Regions from separate parts of the Homo sapiens genome. Here region 1 is linked to region 2. The links are contacts of gene promoters, found by promoter capture Hi-C in blood cells and fetal thymus (Javierre and others, 2016). All regions are on one chromosome and are shown on one strand. Each heading gives the region's core, a stretch centred on a gene start or on the middle of the fragment in contact. The rest is flanking DNA. Distances are from core to core; before and after follow the strand shown.

What was found. Contacts are between HindIII fragments. The CHiCAGO score rates a contact against its expected background, and 5 or more counts as called.
Region 1: the fragment with the promoter of PEAK3 here is called in contact with the fragment with the promoter of MKNK2 in region 2 in 1 of 17 cell types (neutrophils); the score reaches 5.2 in neutrophils.

What each region holds. Positions count from the first base shown.
Region 1 is chr19:2,280,874-2,283,573 of GRCh38, forward strand. It overlaps PEAK3 (PEAK family member 3), which reads right to left and starts at 1,302. Exons shown (of 4, transcript NM_198532.3): 1 at 1,214-1,302; 2 at 1-62. The coding sequence starts at 58. RefSeq lists an enhancer at 1,018-1,157. The HindIII fragment of the contact is 9,031 bases long and covers 1-2,700 here.
Region 2 is chr19:2,049,794-2,052,493 of GRCh38, forward strand. It overlaps MKNK2 (MAPK interacting serine/threonine kinase 2), which reads right to left and starts at 1,451. Exons shown (of 14, transcript NM_199054.3): 1 at 1,303-1,451; 2 at 1,008-1,154. The coding sequence starts at 1,058. RefSeq lists enhancers at 1-359, 536-595 and silencers at 166-355, 1,086-1,625. The HindIII fragment of the contact is 17,390 bases long and covers 1-2,383 here.

The sequences.
Region 1 (2,700 bases), core at 52-2,551, 230 kb after region 2:
TCGACCAGGTGGGGTTGTCGGGCTCGGGGGGCTCTGTGGGGGGCTCCGGGCTGCTCATGTTGCTGGGGAAAGGTCAAACGGGGCGTGTGTGGGGTGACCGTGTGCACGCACAGGGCGACATGGGGAGGGGTCCGTGAGTGCTGGGGCCTGGGAGACCGTCGAGGCCTCCTGCTCCAGGGCCCTTGGTGAGAACAGGCGCACCCACACTCCACTCCCTTGTCCAGTTTTGACCCTGCTGTGTGATCCCGAGTGGGTTTCCTGTCCTCTCTGGGCCCCTGCTGTGTGATCCCGAGTGGGTTTCCTGTCCTCTCTGGGCCCCTGCTGTGTGATCCCGAGTGGGTTTCCTACTCTCTCTGGGCCCCTGCTGTGTGATTCTGAGTGGGTTTGCTGCCCTCTCTGGGGCCCTGCTGTGTGATCCTGAGTGGGTTTGCTGCCCTCTCTGGGCCCCTGATGTGTGATCCCGAGTGGGTTTCCTGCCCTCTCTGGGGCCCTGCTGTGTGATCCCGAGTGGGTTTCCTACTCTCTCTGGGCCCCTGCTGTGTGATTCTGAGTGGGTTTCCTGCCCTCTCTGGGGCCCTGCTGTGTGATCCCGAGTGGGTTTCCTACTCTCTCTGGGCCCCTGCTGTGTGATTCTGAGTGGGTTTGCTGCCCTCTCTGGGGCCCTGCTGTGTGATCCTGAGTGGGTTTGCTGCCCTCTCTGGGCCCCTGATGTGTGATCCCGAGTGGGTTTCCTGCCCTCTCTGGGGCCCTGCTGTGTGATCCCGAGTGGGTTTCCTGCCCTCTCTGGGGCCCTGCTGTGTGATCCCGAGTGGGTTTCCTACTCTCTCTGGGCCCCTGCTGTGTGATTCTGAGTGGGTTTCCTGCCCTCTCTGGGGCCCTGCTGTGTGATCCCGAGTGGGTTTCCTGCCCTCTCTGGGCCCACTTCCTCAATCATGAGGCAGGTCTGTCACCCATCAATTTTCCAGGCAGTGGGAAGGACCCCCCTCTGCACGTTTGGGATGGGGACAGAGTGTTCAGCCTGAGGACAGGCCTTTGGGGGTCAGTTGCGGGGGAGACAGTGTCCAGGGACCCAGGGATCCACACTCAGGCCTCATCCCCGAGGGCTCAGCCGTGCGGTTGCTGCCGGCAGCCAGGCCTCGACCCACCCCCGCCCAGATCCCAACCTCAAAAAGTGGCCGCTTCTGTCCAGCTCCCCGCTCCAGGAGCCCCCTACCTTCAAGACTGGCGTGCCCTCTGGGGGAGGAGGGGTCCGTGGGGACAAACTCCCAATGGCCACAGCCCCTGGCCTCGCAGGAGGGGTCTGACCTGGCGCCGGCAGCTGACAGGAAAACGTCCGGCCCACTGTCAGACCGCAGCCCGGGGTGGGGAGGGGACATTTCTGCAACACTTCCCCAGCAGCCGAGGCCGCCGCCTCCCCTGCCCGCCCGCAGAGGACAGGATGTAACCGGGAGGGAACAGCCTGGACAGAGACCAGGAGGTGGGATCTGAAAGTCAATAGCCCCAGGGCTGACAGCCGGGTGGGGGCAGTGGAAGGCCCCCCACAGCCTCAGAGGCCAGGCTGGGGTGCGGGGCAGTGGGGAGCCCTGTGAGATGGGGAGAGAGGGGCAGAGCTGGCCCACCGTAGGGGAGCGCACAGAACACGGTGGCGGCTGTCCCTGGAGAAGGTGCAAGTGGGGTCTGTGGGTTTCACTTCCCCGGGAACCACCTCCCCTCCTGCGGCAGCATCTGAGGAGCCCCCAGCGGCCCCCTGCCCCATCCCAGGGCCCCCGAATGTGGAGCGTGGGCGAGGACCCTCCCGGCTCTGCCGCGCCTCGCTGTGTGACTGCGGGCAAATCCCCACCCTCTCCGTGCTCCGGCGAAGAAAGAAGAGTGGCTCCCACATCCCGCCTGCTAACAGCCACGCCTGCTGGATTTTTCTTTGAAAAGATGGAATCGGCTCGTTTTCCCCCTTCCCCCTTCCTCACTGCCTCGATGCATTTATTTAGAAAAGACGTTTTAGATAAAATCACCATAAATGGAAAAATCAAGAATGGAAAAAACCCAAGGAAAAGCAGACGCGGGGTGAAATTCCAGCTGAACTGCGTGCCTGTCAAAACTGTCTTTTTCTTTGGAGACAGGGTCTCACACTGTTGCCCAGGCTGGAGCGCAGTGGTGCAATCCCAGCTCACTGCAGCCTGGAACGAGCTCCTGGGGCGATCCTCCCTCCTCGGCCTCCCAAAGTGCTAGGATCACAGGTGTGAGCCACCCTGCCCGGCCCCAAAGATGTTTTTGCTGCAAGGATTGAGTGTATTTTATGTGGGATCCCCGATCCCGTTTCCCTTAGGGAAAATGGGCCCAGAAAGAGTAGGGGCTCCATCCAGGGTCACGCAGCAGCTCGAGGCTGGGAGCAGAGGTCCACAGAGCCACTGCTGAGTCCCCCTGGCCTCCCCCAATCCCCTGAGAAGGGGCAGGAGGGGAAGGAGACTACATTTTTCTTATGAACTTCCCTTGAGTGGGTCCCATGCCACACTTTTTTTTCTTTGAGGCAGGGTCTAGCTCCGTCCCCTAGGCTGGAGTGCCGTGGTGTGATCATAGCTCACTGCAGCCTCCGCCTCCTGGGCTCAAGTGATTCTCCCACCTCAGCCTCCTGAGTAGCTGGGACCACTGGTGTGCACCACCATGCCTGGTTAATTTTTATTTTATTTATTTATTTTTGAGATG
Region 2 (2,700 bases), core at 201-2,700:
GCAGGGGTGGAGTGCTGCCCTGGGGCACTGGCTGGACAGACCTGGGAATTCTTCCCAGTCTCTCTTTGCTCCTCCCACCCTGGAGCACCGCGTTGTGTGTACACACAAGACAGAGACACACACACACACAAACACACACACATACACTCACACTCTCTCTTCCTCTCTCCAGTCCTGCCTTCCCTACCGGGCAACAGGTCCCTGCCCAAGGAAGCCCAGTGAAGCGATTACATAACCCCGGCCTGAGGGGTGGGGCGGGCCGGCTGACATCACTGCGTCCCCTGGGCCAGGTCCTGCGGGGCCCCTGCCCAGCACCTGCCCTCCCCTTCCCCCCCAAGATTTGCTCATCTGAAACCAGCACTCAACAGCAGTCACCACCCGGGCTGCGCAGAAACTTCCCGCTCCGACAGGAAACAGCACTTGGGCCTGGGGTGTCTGCGAAGTGCAGGGCTGAGGGGACATCCCATCCCCTCCCCCACGGCACAGGCCCCCTGGGGGTGGGTGCACCTGACCAGCCCGGCCTGGGGATTCTGAAAGAAAGTCCCCAGAAGCCACATGGAGGTGGGAATGGGACTGTGGCCCGCTGACCCGTCCCCACCAGGGCACAACCAGCTGGAGCTTGCAGGGGACACCCCCCATAAGCCACATGCAGCGACTGGGACAGGACTGCAGCCTGCTGACCCCCCAGAACATACCCGGCGGGGGCTTGCAGGGGACACACAGCCTGGTGCCCTGACCCGGAGGGGGCTCCTGCTCCCAGCCTCACTTGGGGGTCCTGGAGGAAGGACCCGGCGGCCATGGCTGGAGAGAGGACTGTGGCCTGCTGAACCCCCATCCTCGCACACCGACCCCGCTTCAGCGCACGGCCGGCCCGGGCAGCCCCGGGTGTAGGGCGGGGGCCAGGCACGAGCCCCGGGAGCCGATCTTAGGGGCGGGCCCCGCGCCCCCCACGCCGGCCATTCCGGTGGTCCAGCCCGGAGCGCCCCCAAACCGACCCCGGGCCTCACCTTGAACGAACGGTGGAAACCCTGAAGTTCGGCTGGTTTCTTCTGCACCATCTTCTGTCCGGGCCCCGCCAGCGGGGGAGGGGACCGAGGGCCCGGGGGGAGGCCCGAGGGCGGGCGGCCGGGCGGGGGGCGGCCGAGGAGGGGACCCTGCGGGCGGGAGCAGACAAAGGGAGGGCGGTGAGCGGAGCCCGGCCTGCCAGGAGCGCGGACCGGGCGGGGGCGGCGAGGGCTCCGCGGGGCCCGTTTCCCGCTACCGGGTCGGTGTCCTCGGGGCCGCCCTGGGGTTCGCACTCACCGGGGTCGGGCTTGGGCCGGGGCCGCAGTGCCGCCGCCGCCCCACGTCGCGCAGCCCGGACCCCGCTCCGCGGACCGCGCGGGGAACAGCGCCGCCGCCGCCGCCAGCGCGGACCCCTCTACCTGGGCCACCGCCGCTGAGAGGAGCCGGGCGCGTCGCCGCCGCCGCCACCTTTATAGGCCCGGACCTGCTCTGGCCCCGCCCCCGACGCAGGCTCCGCCCGGCCTCACCCCCTGCGCACGACGTGGGCGGAGCCAGAAGAGGGCGCTCTCCGGGAACCCAGTGCGGCTGCGCGCTCCGGCGGTGGGGCGTGTCCGAAACGGCTAGCGCACGCCTGCGCAGTGCGGCGCACGGGGGTCTCGGTGCGGAACCTAGGCAGCGACCCTGCGGCGCGCCCGGAGCTGGCCTGTTTTTGCCGCCTGAGGCTCGCGGGGCCCGTGGGACCTGCGAGGCCCTGGGCCGTGTCCTACCGCCTGGCCCCACACAGGGCAACTCCCTTGGCCTGTCAACCCAGGCCTAGTATACCCCGACTCCCTTGGTTCATGCCCTCGCTCTAGAACCTGCCATGGCTCCCTCTTGCAGTTCTCCAGTGCTGGCTCCAGCAGTCCCCCTCGTGCACCACCAGCACGCTTGGAGTCCCAGCCACTCCCTTCTAGTGCTGGGGGACCAGCCACCGCCACCTACTTTCTTCTTCCCCTGGGCCACCCTGCCTGGGGAGCACTGAGCTCCCCGAGTTTGCTTTGTGGTTGGCAGGAACCAGAGTAGAGGGTGGGGACCGAGGTCTGTGAAGGACCCTTCCTCTGTCCTCGAATAGCATTTCAGGGAGAACTGGGACCTGAGACCCACTGGGAAAGAGCCCAAGGGGTGGATGGTCGCCAGGACAGGAAGTAAAACACAGTCCCATTTTGGCTGGGGCCCCAAACCAGGCTTAGATAGAATCAGCCTGTCCTGAGCTGCCAGTCCCCCATCCCACAGCATCCTGGTTCAAAGTGCTCCCCAGGCCCCGGGCCTGGGGCACACAAGGAGTGGGGGTTCCCCTGCTGGGTGGACTGTGGTCTCCTCTTCTGCAGGGGTTTCCAGAAGCTTCGCACAGCCCATCCCACCATCCCCCAACCAGGCCCTGAGCTCAAGAGGGGCTGGAGCCCCACTGACCTGAAGCTGGAGGGCCCCTGCCTGCAAGGCCACAGCTCTCAGGCCACAGGGGCTGGGAGGCCTGGCCTCAGCCACCCCCGGGGCATTGGGGGGAAGCCTGTGGGGAATTCCCAGCCAGAACCCAGCCCAGCACCTGGCATTGCCCTGACTCTTGGCAATGGGGGGACAGAAAACCAGGTCCCCCAGCCCCCCTTATTGTGCATGTGGGTGCGTGTGTGTGCGTGTGAACACATACACGCACAAACA